Regions from separate parts of the Homo sapiens genome. Here all the other regions are linked to region 1. The links are contacts of gene promoters, found by promoter capture Hi-C in human tissues and cell types (Jung and others, 2019). All regions are on one chromosome and are shown on one strand. Each heading gives the region's core, a stretch centred on a gene start or on the middle of the fragment in contact. The rest is flanking DNA. Distances are from core to core; before and after follow the strand shown.

Evidence for each region. The method cuts DNA at HindIII sites, captures the fragments that hold promoters and counts their contacts. A contact is called where the count stands out against the background at its distance.
Region 2: the fragment with the promoter of CDC34 here is called in contact with the fragment with the promoter of R3HDM4 in region 1 in 1 of the 25 tissues and cell types used here (small bowel).
Region 3: a contact is called between the fragment with the promoter of BSG here and the fragment with the promoter of R3HDM4 in region 1, in 4 of the 25 tissues and cell types used here (dorsolateral prefrontal cortex, heart right ventricle, mesenchymal stem cells and 1 more).
Region 4: a contact is called between the fragment with the promoter of HCN2 here and the fragment with the promoter of R3HDM4 in region 1, in 2 of the 25 tissues and cell types used here (IMR-90 fibroblasts and dorsolateral prefrontal cortex).

What each region holds. Positions count from the first base shown.
Region 1 is chr19:909,514-915,298 of GRCh38, forward strand. R3HDM4 (R3H domain containing 4) reads right to left here and starts at 3,706. Exons shown (of 8, transcript NM_138774.4): 1 at 3,574-3,706. The coding sequence starts at 3,644. RefSeq lists an enhancer at 1-50 and a silencer at 3,524-3,863. The HindIII fragment of the contact is 36,901 bases long and covers 1-5,785 here.
Region 2 is chr19:528,896-534,680 of GRCh38, forward strand. It overlaps CDC34 (cell division cycle 34, ubiquitin conjugating enzyme), which reads left to right and starts at 2,865. Exons shown (of 5, transcript NM_004359.2): 1 at 2,865-3,213. The coding sequence starts at 3,037. RefSeq lists silencers at 2,370-3,109, 3,530-3,699 and enhancers at 2,906-3,562, 3,960-4,009, 4,080-4,239, 5,222-5,785. The HindIII fragment of the contact is 13,520 bases long and covers 1-5,785 here.
Region 3 is chr19:568,535-574,319 of GRCh38, forward strand. It overlaps BSG (basigin (Ok blood group)), which reads left to right and starts at 4,062. Exons shown (of 9, transcript NM_001728.4): 1 at 4,062-4,167. The coding sequence starts at 4,101. It overlaps BSG-AS1 (BSG antisense RNA 1), which reads right to left and starts at 3,714. Exons shown (of 3, transcript NR_184018.1): 1 at 3,575-3,714; 2 at 2,906-3,062. RefSeq lists enhancers at 2,310-2,882, 2,963-3,012 and silencers at 3,833-4,052, 4,223-4,402. The HindIII fragment of the contact is 13,063 bases long and covers 1-5,785 here.
Region 4 is chr19:588,631-594,415 of GRCh38, forward strand. HCN2 (hyperpolarization activated cyclic nucleotide gated potassium and sodium channel 2) reads left to right here and starts at 1,251. Exons shown (of 8, transcript NM_001194.4): 1 at 1,251-1,947. The coding sequence starts at 1,316. It also overlaps the pseudogene LOC100420586. RefSeq lists an enhancer at 1-20. The HindIII fragment of the contact is 14,322 bases long and covers 1-5,785 here.

The sequences.
Region 1 (5,785 bases), core at 2,456-4,955:
TGCCAGGCGTGGTGGTTCACGCCTGCAATCCCAGCACTTTGGGAGGCCGAGGCAGGTGGATCACCTGAGGTCAGGAGTTTGAGACCAGCCTGACCAACATAGTGAAACCCCGTCTCTACTAAAATTACAAAAATTAGCCAGGCGTGGTGGCACATGCCTGTAATCCCAGCTACTCAGGAGGCTGAGGCAGGAGAATCGCTTGAACCTGGGAGGCAAAGGTTACCATGAGCTGAGATCGCGCCACTGCACTCCAGCCTGGGTGACAGAGCAAGAACCTGTCCCCCCAACCCCCACCAAAAACAAAAAAAACAGAAGACTCAGGAAGAAGAGCCCATTTTGAGGGTAAATGCCCACACCAGGTGGTTCAAGGCCCCCTTAGAGGAGACGTTACGTGGGTGCAGTGGCTCACGCCTGTAATCCCAGCACTTTGTGAGCCCAAGGCAGGTGGATTCCTTGAGTCGAGGAGTTCGAGACCAGCCTAGGCAACATAGTAAGACCCTCGTCTCTACAACAAATTAAAAAATTAGCCAGGCCGGGCGCAGTGGCTCATGCCTGTAATCCCAGCACTTTGGGAGGCCAAGGCCGGTGGATCACCTGAGGTTGGGAGTTCGAGACCAGCCTGACCAATATGGAGAAACTCCGTTTCTACTAAAAATACAAAATTAGCTGGGTGCGGTGGCACATGCCTGTAATCCCAGCTACTCAGGAGGCTGAGGGAGGAGAATCGCTTGAACCTGGGAGGCAGAGGTTGCAGTGAGCCGAGATCGCACTACTGTACTCCAGCCTGGGCAACAAGAGCGAAACCATCTCAAAAAAAAAAAAATAGCCGGCATGGTGGTGCACACCTGTGGTCCTAGCTACTCGGGAGGCTGGGGCAGGAGGATCGCCTGAGCCCGCAGGTGGAGGATGCAGTGAGCTGTGATCAAACCTGGGTGATAGAGTGAGACCCTGTATTAATAATACTACTACTAGGCCGGGCGTGGTAGCTCACGCCTGTAATCCCAACACTTTGGGAGGCCGAGGAGGCAGGATGGCTTGAGCCCAGAAGTTTGAGACCAGCTTGGACAAGTTAGCAAGACCCTGTCTCTAATATGAAAAACAAAAACAAAAACAAAAAAAAAGCATCCTCTGCTCCAGCCTGGCCAATAGACCGAGACTCTGTCTCCAATCAATTAACCAATCAACCAATCAAAGACGCATCCTTTCTCCTTCAGATACAAATCACCTCGGTAGAGATGGGTATGGCCTCTGAGTGGAGATAATAGTGATGATATAATAAACATAATAACGATGATAGTAATAAATGATCATTTAAAAATAATACTAGCCGGCGCGGTGGCTCACGCCTGTAATCCCAGCACTTTGGGAGGCCAAGGCGGGCAGATCACAAGGTCAAGAGATCGAGACCATCCTGGCTCACACGGCAAAACCCCCGTCTCTACTAAAAATACAAAAAAATTAGCCGGGCGCGGTGGCGGGCACCTGTAGTCCCAGCTACTCGGGAGGCTGAGGCAGGAGAATGGCGTGAACCCAGGAGGCGGAGCTTGCAGTGAGCCGAGATCGCCCCACTGCACTCCAGCCTGGACGACAGAGTGAGACTCTGTCTCAAAAAAATAAACAAATAAATAAATAAATACAAATAATACTAAAGACCGGGTGCGGTGGCTCACGCCTGTAATCCCAGCACTTTGGGAGGCCGAGGCAAGCAGATCGTGAGGTCAGGAAATCAAGACCATCCTGGCCAACATGATGAAACCCCATCTCTACTAAAAATACAACAATTAGCTGAACGTGGTGGCGGGCGCCTGTAATCCCAGGTACTGGGGAGGCTGCCGCAGGAGAATCGCTTGAACCCAGGAGGTGGAGGTTGCAGTGAATGAAGATCGTGCCACTGCACTCCAGCCTGGGCGATAGAGCGAGACTCCGTCTCAAAATATTAATACTACTAAAATAACCAATAAAACATTAACGATAATTAGTAATGAGACAACGGACACTCCTGTTTGCTGGGCCCGCCGCAGTGCCAGCTCGGTAACCCCCACCACTCGGAGAAGAGGCCACACTTACTATCCCATTTTACAGAAGGGGAAACTGAGGCATGGAAGCATGAAATAACCTGCCCAGGTGGCGCCGTCCGCACACGGAGGAGGCAGGAACGGAACACGCGCCGCCTCCTCGCCCTCCACCAACACGGACCCCAGGGGCGCACCCTGGGTCCCCGGGTCCCTGTGCGGGCCGGGGTGACACACGGCTGACCCCCGCACAGACCGCCCCGCTTCCGGGTCCCCCGGGAAGGACGCGCGGGCTCCTGCTTGCCAGGTTTTAACCCACAAGGGTTGTAGGGATTTACCCAAAGGAGAGCAAGGAGCCGGGTCTGCCCGGAAAGGCAGGGGGCGCGGACAAGCCCAGAGGGCGAGTGGGGCCGGGCGTGCGGCAGGGACCAGGCTGGAGCGCATGGCCACGTGGGTGAACCCCGACCCGCGGACAGGGGCCCAGGACCCTCTGGCGGGAGGCTCCATGGCTGGCACCTCGGGGCCCGGGGAGTGGGGGGGCAGACCCGGGAGTGGGGGCGCGGCCCCGGGGAGGTGGGGGGGGGGGTGGACCAGGGAGTTGGGGGGCGGACTGGGGAGGTGGGGGGACGGACCCGGGAGTGTGGGGGGCGGACCAGGGAGTTGGGGGACTGACCGGGGAGTGGGGGGACAGACCCGGGAGTGGGGGCGCGGCCCCGGGGAGGTGGGGGGGGTGGACCAGGGAGTTGGGGGGCGGACTGGGGAGTGGGGGGACAGACCCGGGAGTCGGGGCGTGGGCCAGGGCAGTGGGGGGGTCGGACAGAGGAGTTGGGGGGCGGGCCCGGGAGTGGGGGCGCGGACCCGGGAGTGGGGGCGAAGACCAGAGAGTAGGGGCACGGACCAGGGAGTTGGGGGGTGGAACCGAGGAGTTGGGGGGCTGACCCGAGGAGTTGCGGGGCGGACCCAGGAATGGGGGCAAGAACCAGGGGAGTGGGGGGGTGGAGCAGGGAGTGGGGGGACGGACCCAGGAGTGGGGGCGTGGATCAGGGCAGTGGGGGGGCGCGGACCCGGGAGTGGGGGGAGTCGGACCCGGGAAGTGGGGGCGCGGACCGGAGAGTGGGGGCACGGACCGAGGAGTTGGGGGGCGGACCCGGAGAGTGAGGGGGTGGACCCGGGAATGGAGGCGCGGACCAGTGCAGTGGGGGGGCGGACCGGGGAGTGGGGCGCGGACCGGGGATTAGGGGGCGGACCGGGGAGTAGGGGGCGGAACAGGTAAATGGGGACGTGGATCCGGGTCCCCTCCCCCAGCGAGCCCCCGGAGCGCCAGGAGGGTGTCCCCGCTGAGTAACAATGAAGACCCCCCACCCAGCCTGGGGGTCCACAGCGGGCGAGAAGGGAAGGCAGGACAGGCTGAAGCCCCGGAAGATGAGCAACGGGAGCGAGGGGAACGAAGGGAACGAGGGGAGGGAAGGGAAAGGAGGGGAGGGGAGGCGGGGAGAGGATCTCAGGGGAGGGAGCCCAGCCCGCCCCCGGCGCCCGCCGCGCCCCGCCCGCCCGCGCTCACAGCAGCCGCCGCCCGCCCGGGGTGCCCTCCGCCGCCTCCGGGCCGCACTCGGGGTTCTCCAGCGCGACCATGGCTCGCACGCTGTCGCCGCCGCCGCCGCCCGGCAGGGCCTTCACCGGGCCGGGCAGGAAGTGACGGGCGCCCGGAGGCGGGCAGGGGCGGGGCCTGGGGCTGCGCGGCGGGGCGGGGGCGCCCACCTCCCGGCTGCCGGGAACGAACGCGGAAACCCAGGCGCGCGGGGAGGGGATCCAGCCCCTGGGGGGACGAACGGGGAAACCGAGGCGCGCGGGGCGGGGATCCAGCCAACAGGGAACGAACGGGGAAACCGAGGCAGGCGGGGCCGGGATCCAGCCATCAGGGAACGAACGGGGAAACCGAGGCAGGCGGGGCCGGGATCCAGCCCCTGGGGGGACGAACGGGGAGACTGAGGCGGGAGGCGGGGCCGGCCACGATCCCTACACCCAGAAATCTAGCTCCGGGAAGGAGGGACACCTAGGCGAGGGGTCGAAAACTCAACCACAACCCTGCGTCCCGATCCGGGCTGCGGACTGAGCCAGGAATCCAGCCCAGGGAGGCGAGGAGACACGGACAGGGAAACTAAGGCCTGAGCATCGACGAGGGAGGGGACGTTCTTCTTGGAGGCAGAGGATGGCGGAAATTAAAACTGCCCGAGCCTTCCTTCCACCTGCCCCTCCCAGCCCTGGAGCCTCGGCTAGGCAACCCCTTCCCCTGCTTAGCCTCAGTTTACTCTTCTCTAAAATTAGGCCTGGTGGCCAACGTGGTGGCTCACGCCTGTAATCCCAGCACTTTGGGAAGCCAAGGCCAGTGGATCACTTGAGTCCAGGTGTCTGAGACTAGCTTGGGCAACATGATGAAAACCCATCTCTAAAATAAAAAGAAAGGGCCGGGCGCGGTGGCTCACACCTGTAATCCCAGCACTTTGGGAGGCCGAGGTGGGCGGATCACGAGGACAGGAGATCGAGACCATCCTGGCTAACACAGTGAAACCCCCTCTCTACTAAAAATACAAAAAATTAGCCGGGCGTGGTGGCGGGGGCCTGTAGTCCCAGCTACTCGGGAGGCTGAGGCAGGAGAATGGCGTGAACCCGGGAGGCGGAGCTTGCAGTGAGCCGAGATCGTGCCACTGCACTCCAGTCTGGGCGAGGAGCGAGACTCCATCTCAAAAAAATAAAATAAAATAAAATAAAGCAAGAGGGAGGCTGGGCACGGTGGCTCGCACCTGTAATACCAGCACTTTGAGAGGCCAAGGCCAGTGGATCACTTGAGGTCAGGAGTTTGAGACCAGCCTGGCCAACATGGCAAAACCCTATCTCTACTAAAACTACAAAAATTAGCCGGGCGTGGTGGTATGCACCCATAGTCCCAGCTACATGGGAGGCTGAGGCACAAGAATCGCTTGAACATGGGAGGCAAAAGTTGCAGGGAGCCGTCCACTTCACTCCAGCCTGGGCCACAGAGTAAGACTACTCTGTCTCAAAAAAAAAAAAAAAAAAAAAAAAAATAGCCAGGCACAGTGGCTCACGCCTGTAATCCCAGCACTCTGGGAGGCCGAGGCGGGTGGATCATGAGGTCAGGAGATTGTGACCATCCTGGCTAACACGGTGAAACCCCATCTCTACCAAAAATACAAAAAATTAGCCGGGCATGGTGGCAGGCGCCTGTAGTTCCTGCTACTCAGGAGGCTGAGGCAGGAGAATGGAGTGAACCCAGGAGGCAGAGCTTGCAGTGAGCCGAGATTGTGCCATTGCACTCCAGCCTGGGCGACAGAGCGAGATGCTGTCTCAAAAAAAAAAAGCAAGAAAGAAAGAAAAAGAAAGAAAGAGTAAGGAGGAAAAAGAAAAGGATGAGAAACTGTGGATGGACTCAAAAAAGCGTGCACTGTGAGATTCCTGTAGATAAATGTGCAAAGAGGTGAAAAAGGACAATGGAGAGATGTATCAGGAGTGACTGGCAGGGGAGCTGGGCATCGGGAATGAGTGGTTTCCCCATCCATCAGGCACAGGGTAAGGGTAGATGCTCAAAGAATGGACCTGAACATTTATTCGTGAGAGAGGGAGGCAACTCCAGAGAACTTCCTGGGCCTTCCTCCCATTCTGGGTTCCAGGGCTTCCCTTCAGGGGCCTGGGCCTGTCCTGTCTGTACCTTCTTCTTCTTCTTCTTCTTCTTTTTTTTTTTTGAGAGAGTCTCGCTC
Region 2 (5,785 bases), core at 1,615-4,114, 380 kb before region 1:
GATGGGATGGCCCCTCCCTGCAGCCAGGGCTTGCGTCAGTCCAATTCGAACCCGTTCCCACAGAGTAGGGAGCCCCCAAGCAGGCAGGTGGAAGCCCCTGGTGTCCACCGCTCCCGGGTGCTGTGAGCCTGAGCCTCCCTGGGGGTCGGGGCCCTGTGGGACCAGCTGGAGGGGCTTGAAAATCTCCCCAACCCAGGCCGGGCGCGGTGGCTCACGCCTGTAATCCCAACACTTTGGGAGGCCGAGGCGGGCGGATCACGAAGTCAGGAGATCAAGACCATCCTGGCTAACACGGTGAAACCGCTTCTCTACTAAAAATACAAAAAATTAGCAGGGCGTGGTGGCATGCGTCTGTAGTCCCAGCTACTCAGGAGGCTGAGGCAGGAGAATCACTTGAACCCGGGAGGTGGAGGTTGCAGGGAGCCAAGATCGTGCCACTGCACTCCAGCCTGGGCGACAGAGCAAGACTCCTTCTCAAAAAAAAAAAAAAAAAAAAAAAGCGAGAGAAAGAAAACCTCCCTCACCCACACAGTGCTTCCTGGGATGTGGGTGTACGGAAGAAGAGAGATCTTGGGAGCCCTTAGAGAAGGAATCGTGGTTAATTCTAATTAGCATTAATTTACCCATGAGCTGCTGCCTGCCGGCTCCATGATGCTGGCAATATATCCACGACCTGTGGCACGGAAGAGACTGAGGCTCACAAAACCCTGGGAACCTTGGTGAAGGGGCCACAGCCAGAAGGCCCCACTAGTCCCGAGACCCTCCTTTTACTCCAGGCCCCCAGGGTGCCGGGCAGAGGGGCCTGAGGGAGGAGGCCCAGAGGCCCTTACGGGTGAGGACGCCTCGGCCTCGGCCCTGGACAGCTCTGGAAGTGACCGCTCGGCCCAGAGCTCTTTCTTGGATCCCTCCCTCCCTCTCCACTCCTGATGCTGTTTTCCTTTCCCCAGACAGGTTTGCCTGCTGGTCCTCTTCCGGGGACCAGACTCATGAAGCCGGGGCCAGGTGTTGGGGCACCTGCGGGACAGAGTGGCCCTGGTCCCAGACTGGTTTTTGTTTTTGGTTTTTTTTTTTTTTGAGACGGAGTCTCTGTCGCCCAGGCTGGAGCGCAGTGGCGCTATCTAGACTCACTGCAAGCTCCGCCTCCCGGGCTCACGCCATTCTCCTGCCTCAGCCTCCCGAGTAGCTGGGACTACGGGCGCCCGCCACCACGCCCAGATAATTTTTTGTATTTTTAGTAGAGACGGGGTTTCACCATATTAGCCACAATGGTCTCGATCTCCTGACATTGTGATCCGCCCGCCTCGGCCCCCCAAAGTGTTGGGATCACAGGCGTGAGCCACCGTGCCCGGCCTGTATGTTGATGCAGCTGTGTGTACCCAGGGCATAGCAACAATGCCACTGGCACAGTCCGAGGGCAGGGCCACCCGTCACGGGCACGACTCAGGGGAGGCTGGGCTGCCCCGTCCTCACCACGGCCAGTTCTCCCGACCAAGCTTCACAGCAAGGAGCATGTGGGTGTCTGGGCAGCCACTGAGCCAGGTCAGAAGTCAGGTGGGGTCACAGTGATGCCCGGAATCAGCTGGGGTCAAGACTCAGGTGGGCTGGGCGCGGTGGCTCATGCCTATAATCCCAGCATTTGGGAGGCCGACGCAGACGGATCCCTTTATTAGTCCAAACTGCATCCTCCCCTTCCTTTCAAAACCTAACAACACACTTGAGGTCAGGGGTTCGAGACCAGCCTGGCCAACATGGTGAAACCCCATCTCTACTTAAAATACAAAATTAGCCGGACGTGGTGGCGGGCACCTGTAATCTCAGCTACTCGGGAGGCTGAGGCGGACACTAGCTTGAACCCGGGAGGCGGAGGTTGCAGTGAGATTGTGCCACTGCACTCCAGCCTGGGCCACAGAACGAGACTCTGTCTCATTTAAAAAAAAAAAAAAAAAAAAGACTCGGGTAGGACAAAGGTCAGGCTGGGAGGAGGGCACAGCCAGGCTCGGGCTCAGCTTGGGGTGGGGGCTCCGTGGGGCTGGCGCCTCTCCCGGGTCAGGTGCTGAGCCGATGCTGGCCGGCGTAGGCCTCTTTCCCAGTTTCTCTGGGGGGCAGGAGCACCTTGCCAACCTCTGATGGCTCCAGCGCCTGCACTCGCCTCACACCACATGGTGACTTCAACGGGGACCAGGGAAGCCCTCGCCCCTCCCACCCCTCAGAGCCCTCCCCGACCTCGCCCACTTCTCAGAGCTCCCGCTGTCGGGGGAACCGAGGCAGCGCCGCGCCTGGAAGCCAGGTCTGCGGATCCCGCCTCGCTCCCGCCCCTTCCTCCCTTCCGCGTGGCCAGCGCGACCCTAGGACAGACTTCGCGCCCGTCCCCTGCACAGACGGGGAAACGGAGACGGGGACGCGGGGTCGCGCCGGATGGACCGGCCCTGCCCCTCCGGTCCCGGTCAGGACCCCGCGCCGCGCCCCGTTCACCGCCCGCGGCCCCGCCCCGCGCCGGCACGTCACAAAACAACCCCAAAGCCGGGGGACCGGGCCGGTGACGGCGCAGAGCAGCCCTGCCCGCCTCCTTGCGCACAGCGTCCGCGGTGCTGGTCGAGCAGGGGGCGACGGCGGCGGCCTCGGGGATCGGAAGAGCCCGGGGCTGCGCGCTCGAACCCTCCCTCCCGGCGGAGGCGCTCGGCGCCGTAGGCGGGACCGGGGCCGGGACTCCACCTCCCGGCGTCCCCTGCGGCCGGGCGCGCAGGCGCAAGTCGGACCTGGCCGCGGAGCGCAGGCGCAGTCGGGGCCAGGCGGTGCGCGCAGGCGCAGCGGGGGGCGGGGCGCGCGGGCCCGGCCAAGGCAAGCGCCGGTGGGGCGGCGGCGCCAGAGCTGCTGGAGCGCTCGGGGTCCCCGGGCGGCGGCGGCGGCGCAGAGGAGGAGGCAGGCGGCGGCCCCGGTGGCTCCCCCCCGGACGGTGCGCGGCCCGGCCCGTCTCGCGAACTCGCGGTGGTCGCGCGGCCCCGCGCTGCTCCGACCCCGGGCCCCTCCGCCGCCGCCATGGCTCGGCCGCTAGTGCCCAGCTCGCAGAAGGCGCTGCTGCTGGAGCTCAAGGGGCTGCAGGAAGAGCCGGTCGAGGGATTCCGCGTGACACTGGTGGACGAGGGCGATCTATACAACTGGGAGGTGGCCATCTTCGGGCCCCCCAACACCTACTACGAGGGCGGCTACTTCAAGGTGAGCGCGGCGACCCCCGCCCGGGTCCCGGAGCCCACGAGCGACCTCGGGCGCCGGGAACCAGCTCCCTGCCCCGCGGTCCTAGCGCTGTTGCTGGGCGGGCCCCGAAGCCTCCTGGCTTGGGCTCGTTTCCCTTCTATGGCCACGTTCCCCCACCCAGCTCTGCCCGGCCCCCTCCTCGGACCGTCTCGGGGACCTTCAGCCTCTGCTGCAGTCCTCGAAAATCCCCAGTTCCCTTCAAGGCATCGTCCGGTCCCCTGTTAGGCTCTTGGCCCCCGGAGGGGTGGCCGGGGGCCCTCCCTGTAGCATCTGGGCGTGGGGCTCTTGCCCACCTCCTCCTTGGCGGGGGCTGGACCCCGGCTGCCTCCCCCTCCGCCCCTGCGAGAAAGAGGGAGCGGAGCCCAGGCCGCGCCGGCCTTTCAGCTGCCCTCCCCGCCCTCCCCGGAGGAGACAAAGAGGCCCCCCCAGACCCCGTAGCTGCTATTGTTGGGGAGCTGGGCCCGTGAGCGGGGGAGCGAGGCCAGCCTGGGGGTGGCTGGCGCGGCCACTCGCTCAGTCTCCAACAAAGGCCCGGATGAGCCTTGGCAGCCAGGACCCGCCTGGAAAGCGGCCACCCTTGCCAGTAGCAGCCGGCCAGGCGCCCTGGGCTCCATCCCCTGCTTTATGTAACCTGCGCCCTCGGGAAGGCCGAAGTAGGGGCGTGCCTCCCACCTGCTCCCTGCAGCTCTCTCCAGGCCTCCCGGCTCGGGCCCGCGTCCCGGACCCCGACCTCAGAAGCTCCGGGCTCGCTCATCCCAGCTGGTCTTGGCCTTTCTCAGAGTCCACTGAACAGGTGGCTTCTTGGGACCCAAACCCCGAGTTCTGGGCCGTTTCTTCTGCCCTCTGGCGGTTTAATTCCAAGCAGTTTCTGGATGTTTTTGTTGTTGTTGGGAGCGGGGAGGCTGTTTCTGTCTCATGTGAAAAGGACTCAGGCCAAAACCAGGGCAGTTTTCTTGATCTCACGATCCAGACGTGACCTTTGACTTCTTTTAGCGTTCAGGGACCTCGTTCTTGGGGCCAGAGGGACAAAGCGAGGGGCCCTGTGTGAGCGGTGGGGAACGAGCACCCTGTCCAGGAATCTCCCCCTCCCACCGTCACTTCCTGCCAAGAGCCTGGACACGACACGACACTGCAGGGCCCGGCCCGCTCTGCCCCGGCCAGCTGCGGGCGTGGGGCCGAGGGACCGATGCCTCCCGCACGATATGTGTCTGCTCTCCGAGCTAATTAGTGTCTGAACCGCACCCGCTCAGCGGCTGTGAGGGCAGCAGCCTGGTCTGCTGGGGGCGATTCCTGAGCAGAGAGTGGGACGCCCGTGGGTTCTGCATCTGGAATCCTGCGTCCCCACACAGGGAACAGAGTTTGGGTCTCGAGGTTGCCAAATGGTTTTAGCAGCTCCTCCGCCAGCCCCTTCTGTCTGCTTGGGGGAGCAGCTGGCTGAGGAGCCGCAGCCCCACCTCGAAGCCAGGCCTGTGAGGCGGCTGCTGTTCTGGAAGGAGGGGATGGGGGTTTCTGGCTGCTGTGCCCACCAGACCGGTTGCCAGGGATTGTGGGCAGAGCTTCCTGGGCCAGCATTAGGGGATAATCCGGTTTTCCGGATTTCCCAGGGAGGGGGCCTCTAGACATCTGCCACAGGGTCAGTCCTCAGAAGCCAGTGTTGAGACGGGGGTGCTGCCACCCACGAGGACTCTCCCTTCCCGCTGTGCCTGGGAGGGAGTTGGGGGAGCGTGGAAATACAGAACCTGCTGAGTGCCCAGGGCCGCTGCTGCCCAGCCACTGCCTGCAGCTGCTGTTCCTTCAGGAGCCAAAGTGAGCCCTGGGGCAGGGGCCGCCAGAGAGAGCCCTCCACAGCCGACTTGCTGTCTGCCCTTGGCAGGGCGCTTTCCTTTTCTGAGCCTGGGTTTGCTCCGGGGAAAAGACATTCTTAGAGGTGCCCAAAATAAGAGGCTCATTGGGACTTGGTGGGGTTTGGTACAGATGAGGCCTTGGCTGTTGTCAAGGATTGCCGCCTGAAACCCAGCACCAGGCTTGGGGGGCCTGAAGTCTTGGGGAACCGCAGGACAGTTCTGAGACTGAAGTTCCAGCCTTGCTCTGTGGCCGCGGCCAAGTCACTTGCCTTACGGGGCACCAGTGAGTTCCCTGTCAAACAGAGGACACCCCCCAAGACACCCCGCGTGCCCTCCCTGTCCAGGAGGGGCCCGTCCACGATCCAAGACCCCCAAAGTGCCCTGCCTGTCCGGGAGGGGCCTCGCCCACAATCCAAGACCCCCGAGTACCCTCCCTGTCCAGACCTCGCCCACGATCCAAGACCCCCTGAGTGCCCTCCCTGTCCAGACCTCACCCACGATCCAAGACCCCCTGAGTGCCCTCCCTGTCCAGACCTCGCCCACAATCCAAGACCCCCGAGTACCCTCCCTGTCAAGGCCTCGCCCACGATCCAAGACCCCCGAGTGCCCGCCCTGTCCAGACCTCGCCCACGATCCAAGACCCCCGAGTGCCCTCCCTGTCCAGACCTCGCCCACGATCCAAGACCCCC
Region 3 (5,785 bases), core at 2,812-5,311, 340 kb before region 1:
AGGTGATCCGCCTGCCTTAGCCTCCCAAAGTGCTGGGATTACAGGCCTGAGCCACCACGCCCGGCCTAGGAGCTGTAAAATTTCTTCTTTGTATTTTATTTCTTTGCCCCCAGCAGTTAAAAGTTCTCTTTCTTGGCTGGGCGTGGTGGCTCATGCCTGTAATCCCATCACTTTGGGAGGTGGAGGCAGGCGGATCACTTGAGGTCAGGAGTTCAAGACCAGCCTGGCCAACAAGGTGAAACCCCGTCTCTACTAAAAGTACAAAAATTAGCCAGGCGTGGTGGCGCGTGCCTGTAGTCCCAGCTACTCAGGAGGCTGAGGCAGGACAATCGCTTGAACCTGGCAGGTGGAGGTTGCAGTGAGCCGAGATCGCACCACTGCACTCCAGCCTGGGCAAAAGAGTGAGACTCCATCTCAAAAAAGAAAAAAAAAGTTCCTCTATGGGATGGTCTTTCCAATTTTCTTTTTTCTTTCTTTCTTTTTTTTTTGAGACGGAGTCTCGCTCTGTCGCCCAGGCTGGAGCGCAGTGGTGCGATCTCGGCTCACTGCAAGCTCCGCCTCCTGGGTTGAGGCCATTCTCCTGCCTCAGGCTCCCGAGTAGCTGGGACTACAGGCGCCCCCACCACGCCCGGCTAATTTTTTTGTATTTTAGTAGAGATGGGGTTTCACCGTGTTAGCCAGGATGGTCTGGATCTCCTGACCTCATGATCCGCCCACCTCAGCCTCCCAAAGTGCTGGGATTACAGGCGTGAGCCGGCAGCTGCATATTTTCTTATCTGTTTATTAAGTCTGTTTAAGAATTCCACGGGCCTGGCCAGGCGCGGTGGCTCACGCCTGTAATCCCAGCACTTTGGGAGGCCGACGTGGGCAGATCACAAGGTCAGGAGATCGAGACCATCTTGGCCAACATGGTGAAACCCTGTCTCCACTAAAATACAAAAAATTAGCCAGGCGTGGTGGCGGGCGCCTGTAATCCCAGCTACTTGGGAGGCTGAGGCAGGAGAATCGCTTGAACCCGGGAGGCGGAGGTTGGAGTGAGCTGAGATCGCGCCACTGAACTCCAGCCTGGGCGACAGAGCGAGACTCTGTCTCCAAAAAAAACCCCATGGGCCCTTCATGTTTCCTCTGTTGTACGTTAAATGCTCGGGAAGTATTTTGGGTTTGCAGATCTGATTCCCGAATCCTTGTAATTATCCCATCTCCGAGATCGCTCATGTTTTTTAGGTCACATTGTCATCCCACCCAGGATCTTGGGCCAGGAATTTACGCTCCGCTGAAAGGACGTTCTGACCGGGGGGTGTTCACGCTCCCAGACTAACACAGCGGCCTGTGAATCATGGTTCTCTCTCTCCTGAGACGAGAGTACTGAGGGTAGACATTAATTCAGCCCAAGCGTACAGCTGTGGCCCCAGAAATTGGTCAATTTGATCCGCGAATCCAAAAGGGTCATCTAACAGTGGTTTGAGTTCTTTTAGATTTCTAACCTCTGAACTGGTTAAAGGGGGCATTTACGAAGTCAATATCCCTTCCTCCCGGTGGTCCTTCCCTAAAGGGGAAAAGGGCTGAGGCAGGTCTTTTTGAGCAGGAGGCAAAAGGAAAGTTCTGTGGGTTTTTGTTTGTTTGTTTGTTTTTTGAGACGGAGTCTCGCTCTTGTTGCCGAGGCTGGAGTGCGGTGGCGCGATCTCGGCTCACTGCAAGCTCCACCTCCCGGGTTCAAGACATTCCCTGCCTCAGCCTCCCGAGTAGCTGAGTAGCTGGAATTACAGGCGCCCGCCACCACGTCCGGCTAATTTTCGTATTTTTAGTAGAGGCGAGGTTTCATCATCGTGGCCAGGCTGCCAGTCCTGAACTCCTGGCCTCGTGATCCACCCGCCTCTGCCTCCCAAAGTGCTGGAATTACAGGCGTGAGCCACCGCGCCCGGCCGAAAGTTTCGAATATCCCTTTGGCATTGTTCTGTTTCCCGTTGGAGCTTTCCTGAGGAAGGGGCATGTTCTAGTGGCTGTCCAGCGGGGATGTGGGTGGCAAGGTCCAGGTGGTTCTATAGGGGAGGGATGGAGGGGCGGAGGAGCGGGTGGGGGAGGGGCGGAGGGGCGAGGGGTGGGTGGGAGGGGCGGAGGGGCGGGTTGGGGAGGGGCGGAGGGGTGGGGTGGGTGGGTGGGGGGGGCGGAGGGGTGGGTTGGGAGGGGCGGAGGGGGTGGGTTGGGAGGGGCGGAGGGGGTGGGTTGGGAGGGGCGGAGGGGGTGGGTTGGGAGGGGCGGAGGGGGTGGGTTGGGAGGGGCGGAGGGGTGAGTGGGGGAAGGTGGTCTAGAGGATCCCACCCTTCTTTAGATATGGGGCGTCTCTGCTAAAAATACAAAAATTAGCCGGGCGTGGTGGTGCGCGCCTGTAATCCCAGCTACTCAGGAGGCTGAGGCAGGAGAATCGCTTGAACCCGGGAGGCGGAGGTTGCAGAGAGTCGAGATCGCGCCGCTGCACTCCAGCCTGGGTGACACAGCGAGACTCCAACACACACACACACAAAAGATATGGCGCGTCTCATTCATTCACAAGTTCCTCTTCAAAGGTTTGGCTCGTTCAGCGCCCTCGTTCTTCGTTTCCTACTTCCAAGGCCAACCTGACTTCCTCACCCTCTGGGCCTCCCCGTCTGAGTCTCAGTAAACAAGTTTCCCGCCGGTCCTGATCTGCAGAGATGGCACCTGCCACCCACTCTGCACATCCCCCTCCCGTCGCCACGGGCTCTTCCCGCCAGTGTAGCCACATTCCTGCCCCTTTCCAGTTAGCCCTTCGCGTTCGGCTTAGTCTGCGGTCCTCTTGCATTGCGACTCCGAGTTTAACTTCCAACACACACTTTCAACCTCCAAGAGACGCCCCCACCTGTGTCGCCCCAATAGCGACTTTTCTCACCGTGGTCGCCGCGGAACTTCAAGGGTCCTTCCTACCCGCGTTGCTGAGAGTCTGGGTTTACGCGTCACCTCGGGCGGGACCCGATCCTCCGCTCCTGAGGCCCCCACAATGAAGCAGTCGGACGCGTCTCCCCAAGAAAGGTAACCGCCAGCCTCTCCTGAAACAGAATGGGATCCAAATGGGATATTTGGGGGCGGCGAGTCGGTCCCGCAAAGAGAAACCAGCACTTAGAAAATTTCTCAGCGAGACCACTTTACTTGTACGGAAGGGGGCTGCCTGCGTGGGATGCAATCTCCAGAGCACACGGGACAAAGGAAGGGAGCTTCTGTTCCTCTGTCCTTTCCCTGTTGGCTGGGGTTGGACGCCCACAATCTAAGCTGATCCCGGTTGGCTAAAACTTAAAACTTTTTTAAAATAGGGTAAACGCGCCACCTGCGAGGAAAGAAGAAGGGGGTAAGGTTGATTGACAACTTTAGACCTGGAAGTTGAGTTTCTGAAGAGGAACTTACTTGTCCCAACCAAATGGTGCACAGGACGTTTATACTAAGAAATTATTCATTTTCTGAGATCCAGATTCAAGTGCCCTTTAAGTATTTTTATTTGGGCGGAGGAGGTCACTTCCTCCCACCTAATTTATTAATACGTTCATATATATATATATATATGTACATTTTTAAAGGCAGAGATGTGCGTCTCGCCATGTTGCCGCGTCTGGTCTCGAGCTCCCGGGCTCAAGCGATCTTCCCGCCTCGACCTCCCAAGGCTCTGGGAGTACAGACGTGAGCCACAGCGGCCGGCCCGTGTTTAACTCAGATAAAATCTGGGTAACACACTTTCAACGCTTCAACCCCCTCGGGCGCACCGCTCTGCGCTCATTGCAACTTTGAAAGCAGGAAGGAAGAAATGCGCAGGCTCCAGCCGCGTCCCCGCAGGCCCCACTCCCGTTTCCTAGCAACGCCGGGTCACGTGCGCCGCCGCCCGGATTCCGTAGCGTGAGCCTGCCGGAGCCGGCGCGTACATGCGAGCGTGTGCGCGCGTGCGCAGGCGGGGCGACCGGCGTCCCCGGCGCTCGCCCCGCCCCCGAGATGACGCCGTGCGTGCGCGCGCCCGGTCCGCGCCTCCGCCGCTTTTTATAGCGGCCGCGGGCGGCGGCGGCAGCGGTTGGAGGTTGTAGGACCGGCGAGGAATAGGAATCATGGCGGCTGCGCTGTTCGTGCTGCTGGGATTCGCGCTGCTGGGCACCCACGGAGCCTCCGGGGCTGGTGAGGAGCGGGTAGGGGGCGGGGGTGCGGTCCTGCAGGGGCCGGGAATGGAGGCCGCGGTGCCGACCCGAAGCCGACGGGAGCCTGGGGCCTCGGCGCGGGGCGGCCTGGGGTGCGAAAGGCCGGCCCCGGGGGCTTCCCGCGCCAGCATGGAGCTTGGGGGTGAAGTCCCAGGGTTTGAGGGGGGACTAGAGGTTCCTCCCGGCGCGGCCTGCCGGGCTCCCCCGGGCGCTCCGGCCTCGAGCCCGGCCTCTGTGTGTGGGCGTGAAGCTCCCTGCTTGGAGGCGGGAGCCAGGGGGTCCTGGCCAGGCCGGTCTTGGTCAGGGGAGGTGGGCGTCTTGCTTTTCGGTCACCTGGGGTTGGGGGTGACCTGCTTCCTGGGTGAGGGCGTCTGCGAAGGCGGTTGGAGGTGGCCCGCCCGCCGGTCCCATCGGCCAGGAGAAGGGAGACCCAAAGCCTGGGTGAGCGTCCCCTTTGGCCTGGAGCCAGGGGTCAGGGGCTGGTTGGTGCCTGCCCAACCCGTCCTGCTGGGGCTGGACTCCGCAGGACCTGGGGAAAGCGGCCTGGGCGTGGAATCTGGAGACGGGTCCACCCTGCCTGCGAGTGTTAGGGTCAGAGACCCTCCCCTGAGACTCTCTGGGGCCCCCGCAAGGGCCCGTGCGGCCTGGAGCGATCATCTTGGCGCTCCCTTCTGGAAAAGGGGCTTTTGTCCTCCAAGAGCACATGGAGGCTCTGAGTGGGTCAGCCCTCCGGATCGGGAAGGGATTACCGTTCTTCACGGGATTTAGCCCTGGCGTCTTGCCTAGGGCGTGCACCTGCCCCCGGGTGTTCTCCCAGACTCTTAAGACCTCGCAGGCTCCCTCGAGGGGCCCTGCGTGGAAGGGAAGGCGGAATCTCCCTCTGATTCTGCCTGGATTCAGCACCCAGAATGAGGTGGTCTCTGAACGCCCCTCCTCCTTTACAGGCGAGGAAACAGCCCTGTGGGAAGTCGAGGTTCCAAGGTCACAGTGAGGGGGCCCTGGCCACCCGATTCAGCGCAGGAAATAGTGAGAAAGTCGTTTTTAGCCGACTCTGACCCGCATTCGGTTTCCAGTGCTGTCTTAGGAGGGCCGTGTGTTGAGGGTGGGCAAACGTGGTTTGGAGAGCGCATTTGGGAAATGGATTGAGGTGTGTTTTTCCGGGAGAAAAGCATGACATCCTTTCTTGCTTCATAGAAAATTTCTTCCTTTGTTGAGACCCCCATTTGGTTCTGGGTTAAAGATTTATAGTGAGGCCGGGCGTGGTGGCTCACACCTGTAATCCCAGCACTTTGGGAGGCTGAGGCGGGTGGATCACCTGAGGTCAGGAGTTCAAGACCAGCCTGGCCAACATGGTGAAACCCCATCTCTACTAAAAATACAAAAATTAGCTGGGCGTGTTGGCGCACGCCTGTAATCCCAGCCACTCAGGAAGCTGAGGCAAGAGAATCGCTTGAACCTGGGAGGTGAAGGTTGCAGTGAGCTGATATCATGCCACTGCACTCCAGCCTGGGTAACAGGGAGACTCTGTCTTTAAAAAAAAAAAAAAAAGAGGTCGGGCATGGTGGCTCACGCCTGTAATCCCAGCACTTTGGGAGGCC
Region 4 (5,785 bases), core at 1-2,500, 320 kb before region 1:
CCATCCACTGTCAGCCGGGCACATGCTGGCCCTCCCTCAAGTACCACTGAGTGCCTCCTGGGTGTAGGAAGAGGGCCATCTCTGCCCCGGTGGCCTCGAGGTGCAGATGGGTGGGGGGCACCCGGCACACGGGACATCGTGGCTGAGAGGACGTCAGGCCAGGTGCCAGGAGGGTCCCAGGAGGGCCTCCTGCCTCCAGGTGGGGATGTTCAGCCTCCACTTCTTCGAGTGTGACTGTCTGTCTCCTCTCTCTCACTTGCCAGCTTCCTCACCTGCCCCCTCCCGGCTGTCTGGTGGGCTGGGTGGCTAGGGACAGAGGCCTCATGTCACCTGGCACCAAGCAGCACCCACGCCCAGCCGGCTTCGGCCCAGAAGCAGAGCCTTGGGAAGCACCTGTCTCAGAGCTGGGGACTGGAGGCACTGGGGGCACAGCTGCACCCGGAGTCCGAGGGGTCGGGGAAAGGAGGCAACCCCGGGGCAGGGGGCTCTGGTACCCGTGCGAAGGCGCTAGTGGGCTTTGGGTCTCCCTGTGACCCCAATCTAAAGCCCACCAGACCTAGAGGAGACCCCCGCCGCACGGCTCCCCAGGGCACTGTTTGAGGGGTGGGTGGGAACCCCACACCCTCGGGTGGCTTTTCCAGTTTTCCTTGTCTGGCTGGGCTTGGCCTCAGTTTCCTCAAATGCAGACCAGGGAGAGGAGTGCCTGAGTCTCCCAGAACGGCGCCCAAGCCGGCCTGCCCCTCCCCACGCACTCAAGGGTCTCTGTCCAGGGCCCACAGGCGACCCAGCAAGGGCTCCTGTGACCTTTAGAAACACCCTTTCGTCGTGGAAGTCTTCAAACCTCACAGAAAGCAAGGAGGCGCTGGCCGTGGCGGCCTCTCCCGTCTCCCAGGCCCGCGTCCACCCTCCCCGCGCCGGTGCCCTCCGGACAGAGGTGGAAGCCGCGGCGCAGGAGAGGCGGCTCCGGCCGGGCAGCGGGGCCCGGTGACCTTGGGCGCGTCCTTACACGTCGCGGGCCTCAGTTTCCCCTCCTGGGGAGAGGCCCGCGCGGGGCTCCGAGGCCTCGGGCCGCGTGACCTTGGGGCGCCCCCGACCCCGCGGCCCGAGTTTCCCGGCGCCGAGCGGAGGCGGCGCGCGGGGAGGGGGCGCAGCCGAGGCGGGTCTCCCGCCCCCGCCCCTCCCCCGCCCCTCCCCCGCCGCGAGGCTCCGCCCCCCGCGGCTCCGCCCCGCCCCGCCCCCGCCTCCCCCCTCCCTCGGGCTCCGGCCGGCGGCGGCGGCGGCGGCTCCGCTCCGCACTGCCCGGCGCCGCCTCGCCATGGACGCGCGCGGGGGCGGCGGGCGGCCCGGGGAGAGCCCGGGCGCGACCCCCGCGCCGGGGCCGCCGCCGCCGCCGCCGCCCGCGCCCCCCCAACAGCAGCCGCCGCCGCCGCCGCCGCCCGCGCCCCCCCCGGGCCCCGGGCCCGCGCCCCCCCAGCACCCGCCCCGGGCCGAGGCGTTGCCCCCGGAGGCGGCGGATGAGGGCGGCCCGCGGGGCCGGCTCCGCAGCCGCGACAGCTCGTGCGGCCGCCCCGGCACCCCGGGCGCGGCGAGCACGGCCAAGGGCAGCCCGAACGGCGAGTGCGGGCGCGGCGAGCCGCAGTGCAGCCCCGCGGGGCCCGAGGGCCCGGCGCGGGGGCCCAAGGTGTCGTTCTCGTGCCGCGGGGCGGCCTCGGGGCCCGCGCCGGGGCCGGGGCCGGCGGAGGAGGCGGGCAGCGAGGAGGCGGGCCCGGCGGGGGAGCCGCGCGGCAGCCAGGCCAGCTTCATGCAGCGCCAGTTCGGCGCGCTCCTGCAGCCGGGCGTCAACAAGTTCTCGCTGCGGATGTTCGGCAGCCAGAAGGCCGTGGAGCGCGAGCAGGAGCGCGTCAAGTCGGCGGGGGCCTGGATCATCCACCCGTACAGCGACTTCAGGTACCGCCTCCGGGAGGGCCGGTCGGCGCGAGGGGGCCCGGGGAGCCGGGCGCGCGGGGAGCCGTCCTTGGAGCGCCTGGGGAGGGCGGGGCGGCGCGCCGGGCCGGTGACCTCGGGGCTCCTCGGTGACCTCGGGCGTGTCCGGGACCCGCCCCGGAGTGACCCCGGCGCGCGAGGCTCCGCCTCTGGGGGGGCTCCCCGGGTGACCGCGGAGCGCCCCCCTCCCACGCACCCCGACATCCTCCGCCCTGCGGCGCGGCGGGTGGGGTGGGCCGCAGGGCCAGGGTCTGAGCGCAGAGGGGCAGAGAGGACGAATAGAGGGGAACGTGGGCCCCAGAGAGGCGGCGGAGCGGGAGGGAGGAGGAACGAAGGGCGCCCGGGAAGGACGCGCCCCAGGGAGGCCGGGGGAGAGGGGGTTAAGCGGCTCCCACGGCGTCCACCCGCGCCCCGCCTGCGAGGAGGCGCGCCCGGGGCCGCGGGCCTGGAAAGCGTGCGGGTCCCCAGGCTGTGTCCCCGGGAGCCGCTCCACCCGAGCCGCGGGCGGTGCGCGCATGCGGCGGTGGGTGTGTAGACGCCGCTGTGGATCCAGCCGGCTAATGCGTGGAAGGCTCGGAGCAGGGCCGGCGCGGGGCCACCGCCACTGATGTTTGCGGTCGTGGTTCCTGGGCTGTGCGTGCTGTGGCCGGAGAGCGAGACCGGCGCGTGTCCCCGTGGGCTGTGTGTGAACAGGGGCCCGTGACCGCGGCGGGGTTCCCGGGGCGCGAGCCTGTGGCCGGAGAGGTGTGTCTCCAGGAGTGTGTTTGCGTGGTGGTCGCGGGCGTGTGCGCCTCCGGTGGGTTTATTTTGGTGGGACGTGTGGTTTGTGTGTGTTGGGACCAGGTGGCGGGCGTGCGCGTGTACGCCCGGGGCCGGTGTGCACCGGTGGGCAGTAGTGTGAGCCGCAGGCAGGTCTCACACACGCGACCATGGAGGGATGCGTGTGTGTTTGTGTATCCACGAGTGGGGTGTGAGGTGGGGTGTGGAGGGTGCAGGTGGAGGGTGTAGGTGGGGCCCGCCGGGCTAGCGAGGCCGGGCGCGCGGGACGGGCGCGGTTTCAGCACCACGGACAGCGCGCCGGACCTGGGAAGCCTGCGGTTTTCCCGCCTGTCTCTCCTCCTCCAGGCCTGGGCGCCCCAGGACAGCCCCCACGGACCCTGGACCCCCGGAACTGGGCAGGGAGGCTGTGGGGTTCTCTCTTCCCCTGGATTCTCTGCACCCCTAGTGCTTGACTGGAGAAACTGAGGCCTGGGGCACATGCGTCCTGGACAGAGCCTGGAGGAAGGCCCTGGAATCCTCCTCCCACCCCAGGCCTTCCTGAGAGGTGAATACAGCTTTGACCAGAAGCCTGGATTTCGAGACAGGCCAGGGGTGGGAGGAGCCCCGAAATCCCCAGAGGGGCTGTGTCCGGCCCCTCCCACCCTGCCTCTGTGCCCCACCGGGAGAGCTTGGTCAGCATCTGGGCTCTGGCCTGCGAAATGTGGACAGTGAGCGGGAAGGACTGGACTTCCAGGGCTGCTGGTCGGCCTGGCCCCACTTCCAGTCGGGCAGTGGCACCCCCTGACCGGAGAGGGACGCGGTGGAGAGGGAGCTGTAGAACGTGCCCACTCCCCTCCGTCCCCTCCAGCATGACCTTCGACAGAGATGGGTGCACCGCAGCGTGGGGGCTGGCAGGTGGAGGCCCACACCAGCCACTCCCTCCCCTGGGCAGCTCCAGCGACCCCCTGGCTGCAGAGGGGCGGTCGGTGGCCTGGGGGGCAGGTGGGCAGATGGCTGATCCCGGGGCTTGGGGGGAAGGCCGGTGGTAGGAGTGAAGCCCTCTCATCCTTCCACCCTCCTTGGGCGTGGTCGCCTGGAGGCCTGGGCAGGCTGTGGCCCCGCTCTGTGCTCTGAGGCATAGAGGGCTCAGAGGCCCCTGTGTGGACCAAGTGCAGCCCCACCCCGGCAGATGAGTGTTGAAGTGGAACTGAGCAGGCAGGGAATGGGGTTAGCGGGGCCTGTCTTCGGGACTAGGGGAGTCACGGCAGTCAGATTTTAAAAAAGGATTTCGATGTTGCCAAGCTGGGTGCACGGGGCCCCTAGGACCCTCCCCAGGCTTGGGACCTGTGCCAGTGTGGAATCAGTGTGGAAAAAGACCCCCAAGAATATCTCAAAAGCTCCCTAAGCAGGCGGCCGGACCCTGCTGTGGAGGGTGTTTTGGGGCAGCCCACAGCAAGCGAAGGGGCCTCTACGTTTGCAGCTGACTCAGGAGCCTGGCCCCAACTGGCTTCGGGCCCAAGGCCTCCTGTGCCTGGCTGGGTGTCTTGGGTCCTCGCTGGGCCCCTCTGCCTCAGTTTCCCCAATTGCACGGTGGGGATGGTATGAGGGAGAAGGATGGGGTCTTTCACAGCCTTGCCAGTGTCTCAGCCTCACGTCTCACACTCTCTTCACCTCCCCTTCCTGCTGAGAGAGTGCTGTGCTCCTTGCCCAGCCTGTGCCCCCCAGGCACGCCCTCACCCCGGTTCTTCCTCGCTGCCCAGCTGTCTCCGCCACGCCCAAGTCCACCCTGCTCCCGTGCTCGGAAGTGGCCTCTTTCACGCCCCACGTCCCAGTCCCAGTATACAGCAGGTGCCACATATTTGCTGAATTTTCTGAGGGGCAGAGCATGGGTCCTGGGCTGACGTGGGTCCAGATTTCGGCTCTCAGGCCTGGGCGGCTGGCCCCTTTGGAAGTGCAGTTGGTGCCAGGGTGCAGCGGCTCACGCCTGAGATCCCAGCACTTTGGGAGGCTGAGGCGGGCGGATCACCTGAGGTCAGGAGTTCGAGAGCAGCCTGGCCAACATGGTGAGATGATCCCGTCTCTACTAAAAATGCAAAAATTAGCTGGGCATCGTGACGAGCGCCTGTAATCCCAGCTACTCGGGAGGCTGAGGCAGGAGAATCACTTGAATCCAGGAGGCAGAGGTTGCAGTGAGCCGAGATCGCGCTGCTGCACTCCAGCCTGGCTGACAGAGTGGGACTTGGTCTCAAAAAAAAAGAAAAGGAAGAAGAAGTGCAGTTGGTCTATTGCTGAAGTCTCTGGGGCTGTGGGTGGCTCTACACCCCGGCCTGACGTCTGAAAGTCCCCAGAGGCATGCTGGGCGCTTCCCTGGGGTGCTGGTGGAAGAGCAAGTTCAAGGACCCAAGTTCAAGGTTTTGGGTTCCAGAGGCTCAAGTTCCCTTCCTTGTAGGTGATCACGGTTGGTGCCTGAATTGGAACAGGCGTGAAAACCAAGAAGGAAGGGGTTTGGCCTTATGCAACCCCCAGGGCTTCGGCAGGGTCTTCTGTGCCTCCCAGAGCAAAATTAGGTCAAAAATAAGTATAGTTCATTCCTACTCCCTTCACCCCAGCCGCCGCTGATTCTAAAGGCCACACAGGTCCACTTGGGAAAGCCTGAGTCGTGCAAAGGAGGGTGTCTCCGCAGGAGAGGGGCAGGGGCTGGAGGTCTCTGCACGAGAAGGGCTGGGGCTGGAGGGTGTCTCCGCAGGAGAGGGGCTGGGGCTGGAGGGGACACGAAGGCCCAGGGAGGGGCGGTCTGAGGAGGTCGCGTTCTCCGAAGCTTGCTGTCATCCACCCTCCCTGCCCCCGGTGTCACCGAGGGGGCTGGGCAGACCTGGCGGGGTGGAGACCTGGGCAGATCCGGGGTTTGTGCCCTGGGAGCTCTGGGGGGCACAGGGCAGGTGTCGGGTGGAGAGAGGCTGGCGGCTTCCTGACTGCCCTCGGTCCAGTTCCAGGGCTAAGTGCCCTGTGGCCGCCCTGCCGTCTCCTGCTGCTGCTGACTTGC